Regions from separate parts of the Homo sapiens genome. Here region 1 is linked to region 2. The links are contacts of gene promoters, found by promoter capture Hi-C in human tissues and cell types (Jung and others, 2019). All regions are on one chromosome and are shown on one strand. Each heading gives the region's core, a stretch centred on a gene start or on the middle of the fragment in contact. The rest is flanking DNA. Distances are from core to core; before and after follow the strand shown. Region 1 overlaps SCNN1G (sodium channel epithelial 1 subunit gamma). Region 2 holds the start of NDUFAB1 (NADH:ubiquinone oxidoreductase subunit AB1).

Evidence for each region. The method cuts DNA at HindIII sites, captures the fragments that hold promoters and counts their contacts. A contact is called where the count stands out against the background at its distance.
Region 1: a fragment that was not itself captured here is called in contact with the fragment with the promoter of NDUFAB1 in region 2 in 1 of the 25 tissues and cell types used here (lymphoblastoid cells).

The regions. Positions count from the first base shown.
Region 1 is chr16:23,184,105-23,187,276 of GRCh38, reverse strand. SCNN1G (sodium channel epithelial 1 subunit gamma) reads right to left here. Exons shown (of 13, transcript NM_001039.4): 2 at 689-1,049. The coding sequence starts at 1,005. Among named protein-coding and RNA genes, the nearest start is that of SCNN1G, 2.9 kb to the right of the region's middle. RefSeq lists enhancers at 524-1,023, 1,024-1,525. The HindIII fragment of the contact is 3,555 bases long and covers 1-3,172 here.
Region 2 is chr16:23,594,375-23,597,847 of GRCh38, reverse strand. It overlaps NDUFAB1 (NADH:ubiquinone oxidoreductase subunit AB1), which reads left to right and starts at 1,532. Exons shown (of 5, transcript NM_005003.3): 1 at 1,532-1,725. The coding sequence starts at 1,558. RefSeq lists a silencer at 1,785-1,874. The HindIII fragment of the contact is 9,015 bases long and covers 263-3,473 here.

The sequences.
Region 1 (3,172 bases), core at 166-2,665, 410 kb after region 2:
TTTAGCTGGATGTGGTGGCATGTGCCTATAGTCCCAGCTACTCAGGAGGCTGCAGTAGGAGAATTGCTTGAGCCCAGGAGGTCGGGGCTGCAGGGAGCTATGATTGCACCACTGCACTCCAGCTTGGGTGACAGAGTGAGACCCTGCCTCCAAAAAAAAAAAAAAAAAAAGAAAAGGCCAGGTACTGTGGCTCACACCTGTAATCCAAGCACTTTGGGAGGCCAAGGCGGGTGGATCACCTGAGGTCAGGAGTTCAAGACCAGCCTGGCCAAGCATGGTGAAATCCTGTCTCTACTAAAAACACAAAAAAATTAGCCTGGCGCTGTGGTACACCCCTGTAGTCCCAGCTACTCGGGAGGATTGTTAGAACCTGGGAGGTGGAGGTTGCAGTGAGCCGAGATCGCACCACTGCATCCCAGCCTGGGCAACAAGAGCGAAACTCCATCTCAAAAAAGGAAAAAGAAAAGAAAAAAAACAAGTCACTGATGGTCTGAAAACTTGGTACATACAGATTTAGAACTGGGGAGGGGGCTGTTTACCAGCGTTAGCAACAAATTCAAATTTCTAGAAAGCACATTTGTAGGCTGGAATCGACCTCCAGGCTGCCAGTGTGTCACTTTCGGGAGGGGCTTTGGCCTCTGTGGGGGGCCTGGCTCCCTACTCGCGTTTCCCTGCTCATGCCTCTTACTTGTAGGGGTTGATGTTGCAGATGGTGACTGCAGGAAAATCCAGCTTCCGGAAGTGGACTTTGATGGAAACTGAGACAGTATAGAAGGAGAAGACGAGGAGGGCGCACTGCCAGAGGATGAGGGCCACGGCAGTCAGTGTGAACCCGATCCAGAGGAGGCGGCGCAGACGGCCGCGGGACACCACGATGCGGCGACAGCCATGGGTGTTGGTGTTGAGGCAGTACCACCGCATCAGCTCTTTAATGGTCGGCGCCTGAGGGCCCGTCACGGGCAGATTCTTCTTGATTTTGGCTTTGATCTTCTCTCCGGGTGCCATGGCGAGGATGGGACTTTGAGGACGGGACTCTGAGGACGGGCGTGCTGGAGGGGCAAAGAAGAGAAGCAGGTGAGCTGGCAGGCACTAGCCGGCTAGTGTGTCCCTGGAGACCACAGTCTGGGAAACACCAGTCCATGCGCCCTTAGAGACCTCCTTCCTCTGTTCCTCTGTGGCTTAGGCACTTTGCATTCTGAATCCTTGGCCCCTTTTCCACGGGACGTTTGTTTTTGGCCACCACAGCTGCCAGAGAAGCTGCCTACTTCTCTTACGGCCCCCAGGCCTAGCCGTGCGGGGGCTGGGTGAGGTGCAACCTGCGAAGCGCTGGCTGGACAGGCTGCAGGACCTTTCCCCGGGTTCCTGGGCAGGAACTCTGGAAGCAGCCCCATCAGCTCTCTTATCAGGCAGGGGTACCCGTGCCTTATCACCTCCAGTAGCCCGCCTTCCTCAAGGGCAGCATTCCTATCTCATTATGCCCCCTGGTTCCTAGCACAGTGTCTGGCACAGAGCAGTGCTCGGCAGATTGTAACTGACAGATGAAATCTGCCAAGAAAATTTCCCGGCAGCCACCTTAGATCATGTTCCTGGCTGCATTTTCCCCAGCCTTTTCTCTGAGGCTTTATTATAAGTGAAACGATTTCTCTTTTGTTTCTTCTCTTTACAGTCAAGCTCTTAATGTTTCTAGATCACCTGATGTAACAATAACCTGCAACTATTGGCCACTTAGTGTTTGCCAGGCATTGTGCCATATTTCCTTGATTCTAAGATACCATTAATTTAGAGAATGCCCTTGATTTAATAACAGCTTTGGGGGAGAGTACCAGTATTGGAAGGCAAATTATCACATTCATCAATGTGCACGATGCATCTCAACTATACAAACTTTACAATGAGAAATAATTTTAGAAATGAACTAATATACTACATAAAAACTCATTTCATGTTTATAATATATAGTCTCATTAGTCTCATAAGTAAATTTGTCTCTCTCTATAAATATACACATAGCCTACATATATTTCCTTTTGTGTTTCAATAATTCCATGAAGTAGGCATGCTATTATTATATCCATGTTACAGAGGAGAAAAATGGGCTCAGAGAGGTTGAATATCTTGTGTAAGATGATGCAGCTGGTTAGTGGAGGAGCTGGATGGAACCCTGCAGCCTTCACCGCTATGGCATACGCCTTTGAGGGGCCTGGTAGTACGCTGGGTGCAGGGAGTTAATTAACAATACCAAGAACTAAAGGTAGGAGGAAAGAGAAGGAACACAGCTATTTAATTTCCAAACTCTGAACAGTGCACATGACCACTTCCCAAGACTTGTGAGCACTAGTATTGGGGGTGGGGGATATATGAAAACTGTGTCGTCCTATGCCTTCTACAGTGACAAAGGCAAATTAGGACATATCCTAGGGCATACAGGGTGGTCCCCAGGACCAGAGAGGACCCATGTCTGTGACTTCGATGTGCCCCATCAAGATTTTTAGGCAGTATTCGGAACCTGCAGAGTTATGTCTTTTTTTCCCACCCTGAACCCATGAAATATGGGCTAAAATTGGAAGCTGGGGCAAAGCTAGGAGGCTTCCAAGCTTATGATGCTAGTGGGTTTAAGGCCTCAGATGGAAAGGAAATGGAGTGCTGGGCATGGAGGTGAGATGTCCAGAGCAGACAAACTGCTCTAAACCCTCCATAGATTGATATGATTTTGCTGGGATGAAGAACACCATCAAAATGATGCTAGTAGCCTCTGGGCAAGAGGAATATAATTTATTTTTTTATCACTTAAAATATTGCCTATCCTTACCTCCTCCCTCACTACAATCCAAAAAAATAAAAAATGAAATAAAGAAGAAGGAAAGAAAGAAAAAAATTAGCGAGAGTTTGTTTTTAAAATCTAGGTCCAGGTTCAATTGCTTGTCAAATAAAACTGCAGCCCTCCTCTGTGAATGTTCAACAGAAGCTGTGATTCTGGAAGCTCCTATCCCCAGCTCTCAGGGGTACCTCTGCCCCATCAGCCCCTTCCCCAGAACCGACCTTGACCCCAATGGATCAGTCGACAATGTCAGAGGAGCCCCCAAGTGAAGGAAGGGAACTGATCTTGCTCTTTGCAAAACAGATAAAATATTCATATAAATAATATTTCAACTTCAAAGCAAAACAAGACTGT
Region 2 (3,473 bases), core at 283-2,782:
TGGGACTACAGGCGCGCACCACCACACCCAACTAATTTTTGTATTTTTAGTAGAAATGGGGTTTCACCATGTTGACCAGGATTGTCTCGATCTCTTGACCTCGTGATCCACCCACCTTGGCCTCCCAAAGTGCTGGGATTACAGGTATGAGCCACCGCGCCTGGCAGCATACCATTACATTTTATTTTACTTGGATTTAACAAAAATAAAAAGAAATTGAGGTAAAACTGGTGACATTATTGGATCATTCATTCAGGCAGATTTCAGAATTTGGAGTCATTATCCCGTGTGTTTCCATTTCAGTCAATATCCTTTAGCTCCCTGCTTAGAAATAGGAATTAGCCTTCTTAAACTCCTCCCTCGCTTACCTATTTTTGTTAGCTATTGTAAGGAACATGGCTGTGCTTTGGTCAAGGATAGGCCAAGGTAAGATGTTTACATCCTGCGTGACTCAGCAAGTTTAGACAGAGGCGTATAACTCCACTTGTTATCACAGCCATGTAGGCATAACATGGGAAGGTCATCACTTGGCTCTAAGCCACTATTTTCTGTAAAAGGTATAATTGCCCTGCTGATACTGTACAGGCGTTCGTGCCCAGAGAAAGAGAGAGCCAGAGCTGTCAGTCTTTGCAGACAGACAGGGGGAGCCAGATCACAGCTGAGAGAGAGTTAAGCTGCTGACCCTGAAGGCAAGGGAGAGCCAGCCTCGCAGTTGTGTGGGGGAGCCATGGGACTAAGCAGCTGAGACAAGGCAGACAGTGTGAGAGAACTAGTGTAAGTAAGCTGCTGATGAGAGCTGCTGCTGAATAAAATCATCTTTCACCTGCCTACCGTCCCCTGAGTGTTCTTTCAGCTATCTGTTCATCCACCCACTCCCCTCAGACCTCGATATGGGCTGGAACCTGGCTGTGGGCATGACAGTTGGCATAGTCGTGGACCTGACAGCTATATTATACACTGTCAAGTTTTAAAACATGTATATTGTTTTAATCGTAATTCTCACATTTATTAGTCTTAGGTATTGAAATTGATTATTTTTTCACATTATTATATATATTTTTTTACCTATTCAATAAATGTTAATACTTGTGGAAGAATTGTGGAATCAAAACTTTGTCCTTTTTTTCTTTTAATCTTTTTTGTAATAGAGACGGAGTCTTGCCGTGTTGGCCAGGTTGGTCTTGAACTCCTGAGCTCAAACAGTCCTGCCACCTTGGCCTCCCAAAGTGCTAGGATTAAAGGCGTCAGCCACCGCACCCGGCCCCAAACGTTTAAACAGATGTATTTCAGAACTTTCAGATAAAAAATGAAAGTAGGTTTCTCGTGCCGTGTCGTTTAGGGAAAGACGGCGACGTCTGCACAGTTTAGTTGTGACACCAAGCAGTTGTTCGTCCCCGAACCTGGATGGGCTCCGAGGGCGCAGTGCCTCCAGGAGCCGCCAGGGGCCGCCACCGCCGGCGGTGCCCGACAGCGCTGCCGTGTGCGTCGCCTGCGCGCCGCCGGAAAGGAACCCTGGTCCGGAGGCGGCGGCGCAGTGCATCCTGGGTTGGCGTAGCCATGGCGTCTCGTGTCCTTTCAGCCTATGTCAGCCGCCTGCCCGCGGCCTTTGCGCCGCTGCCCCGGGTCCGGATGCTGGCCGTGGCCCGGCCTCTCAGCACCGCTCTCTGCTCCGCGGGGACCCAGACGAGGCTCGGGACTTTGCAGCCGGCCTTAGTGCTCGCGCAGGTGACTCGTGGTGACTTTGCTGCCGCTTGGCAAGGGTCAGGGATTGGGCCCGGTGGGGGTGGGGGCCGGGCATCCGGGGCGCGCCAGCTGCAGGCAGGGGTGACCCGGGGGGCAGCCGGCTCGCTCCGCAGCCCCGCTGCCTAAAGGTGTTTAGTTGACCCCTGACGGGAGGCCGGGTGACCTCGTAATAACGAGCAAGAGCACTGACTCGAGTCCAGCACTGCTGGGCTGCCGCTTACCGAAACTTTGGACAAGTCTCCTAGCCTGGCTCACACTCACCTGCAAAATTGGGATCCTGGTCTCTACCTTGCGGAGTAGCAATGAGGATTAGATGAGTTAATGCGGCTAGAGCACCTCGTACGGTCTCAAAATAGCGGTCACCGTATTGTAGTGAAAGCAGCATGCAAAGAGGCAGCCACACTGGCCTACAGCCTTCTCCAGAGCGGTTTTCTCTCTGCAGTTCTGTCCTTACTCTTCCCTGCAGCACCTTCTGCCTGTGTCCAGGACTCCTGGAAGTAATTCTAGGAAACAAGCCAAGTGACCTTTGACCAATAAGGATTTGAATTGCGCGGGTCCACTTATATGCGGATTTTTTTTCAACCAAACGCGACCAGTATTTACGGGATGTGCCGCCCCGCGTATAAGGAGGGCAGGCTCTTCCTATAAGCGGATTCTGCAAGGCTGACTGCGGGACGTGAGTGTGCGGGGATTTGGGTATAGTCGGGGGTCCTGGAACCAATCTGCGCAAATACCAAGGAACGACTGTACCTGTAGTATATAGCTTGAGCTGATGAAATCTGCGTGAGGCTGAAACGCCGGGAGGCAGTGATTTCGGTGTTGTTGTTGTTGTTTTTGAGACAGAGTCTCGCTCTGTCACCCAGGCTGTAATGCAGTGGCGTGATCTCAGCTCACTGCAACCTCCGGCTAACGGCAACCTCCGCCTCTCAGGTTCAAGCAATTCTCCTCCCTCAGCCCCCCCGAGTATTTGGGACTACAGGCGCCCGCCACCATGCCCGGCTAAGTTTTGTATTTTTAGTGGAGACGGGGTTTCATCATATTGGCCAGGTTGGTCTTGAACTCCCGACCTCGCAATCCACCCGCCTCGGCCTCCCAAAGTGCTGGGATTACAGGCGTGAACCACCGCGCCCTGCCTTTTTTTTGTTGTTTTCTAAGTTCTCCAGATGACTCTGAAGTGCAGTTGGGAATAAAAATAACCGTCTTAAGGTAGGATAGACTCCCAAGGTCAAGTTATGAAACCCCTTTTCAAAGTCATAGACTTCAGGTAATAGTGGTTTCAACCTTGACTGCATGTTAGTGTGAAAAATAAGTGTGTCTGGCCAGGCGTGGTGGCTCACGCCTGTAATCCCAGCACTTTGGGAGGCCGAGGCGGGCGAATCGCTTGAGCCCAGGAGTTTGAGACCCTCCTAGGCAACATGGTGGAACCCCGTCTCTACAAAAAATACAGAAATTAGGCCGGGCGCGGTGGCTTATGCCTGTAATCCCAGCACTTTGGGATGCCGAGGCGGGCGGATCACGAGGTCAGGCGATCGAGACCATTCTGGCTAACACAGTGAAACCCCGTCTCTACTAAACATACAAAAAATTATCCGGGCGTGGTGGCACGCGCCTGTAGTCCCAGCTACTCAGGAGGCTGAGGTGGGAGGATCGATTGAACCCAGGAGGCAGAGGTTTTAGGGAGCTGAGATGATGCCACTGCACTCCAGTCTGGGAGGCAGACCGTCTTAAAT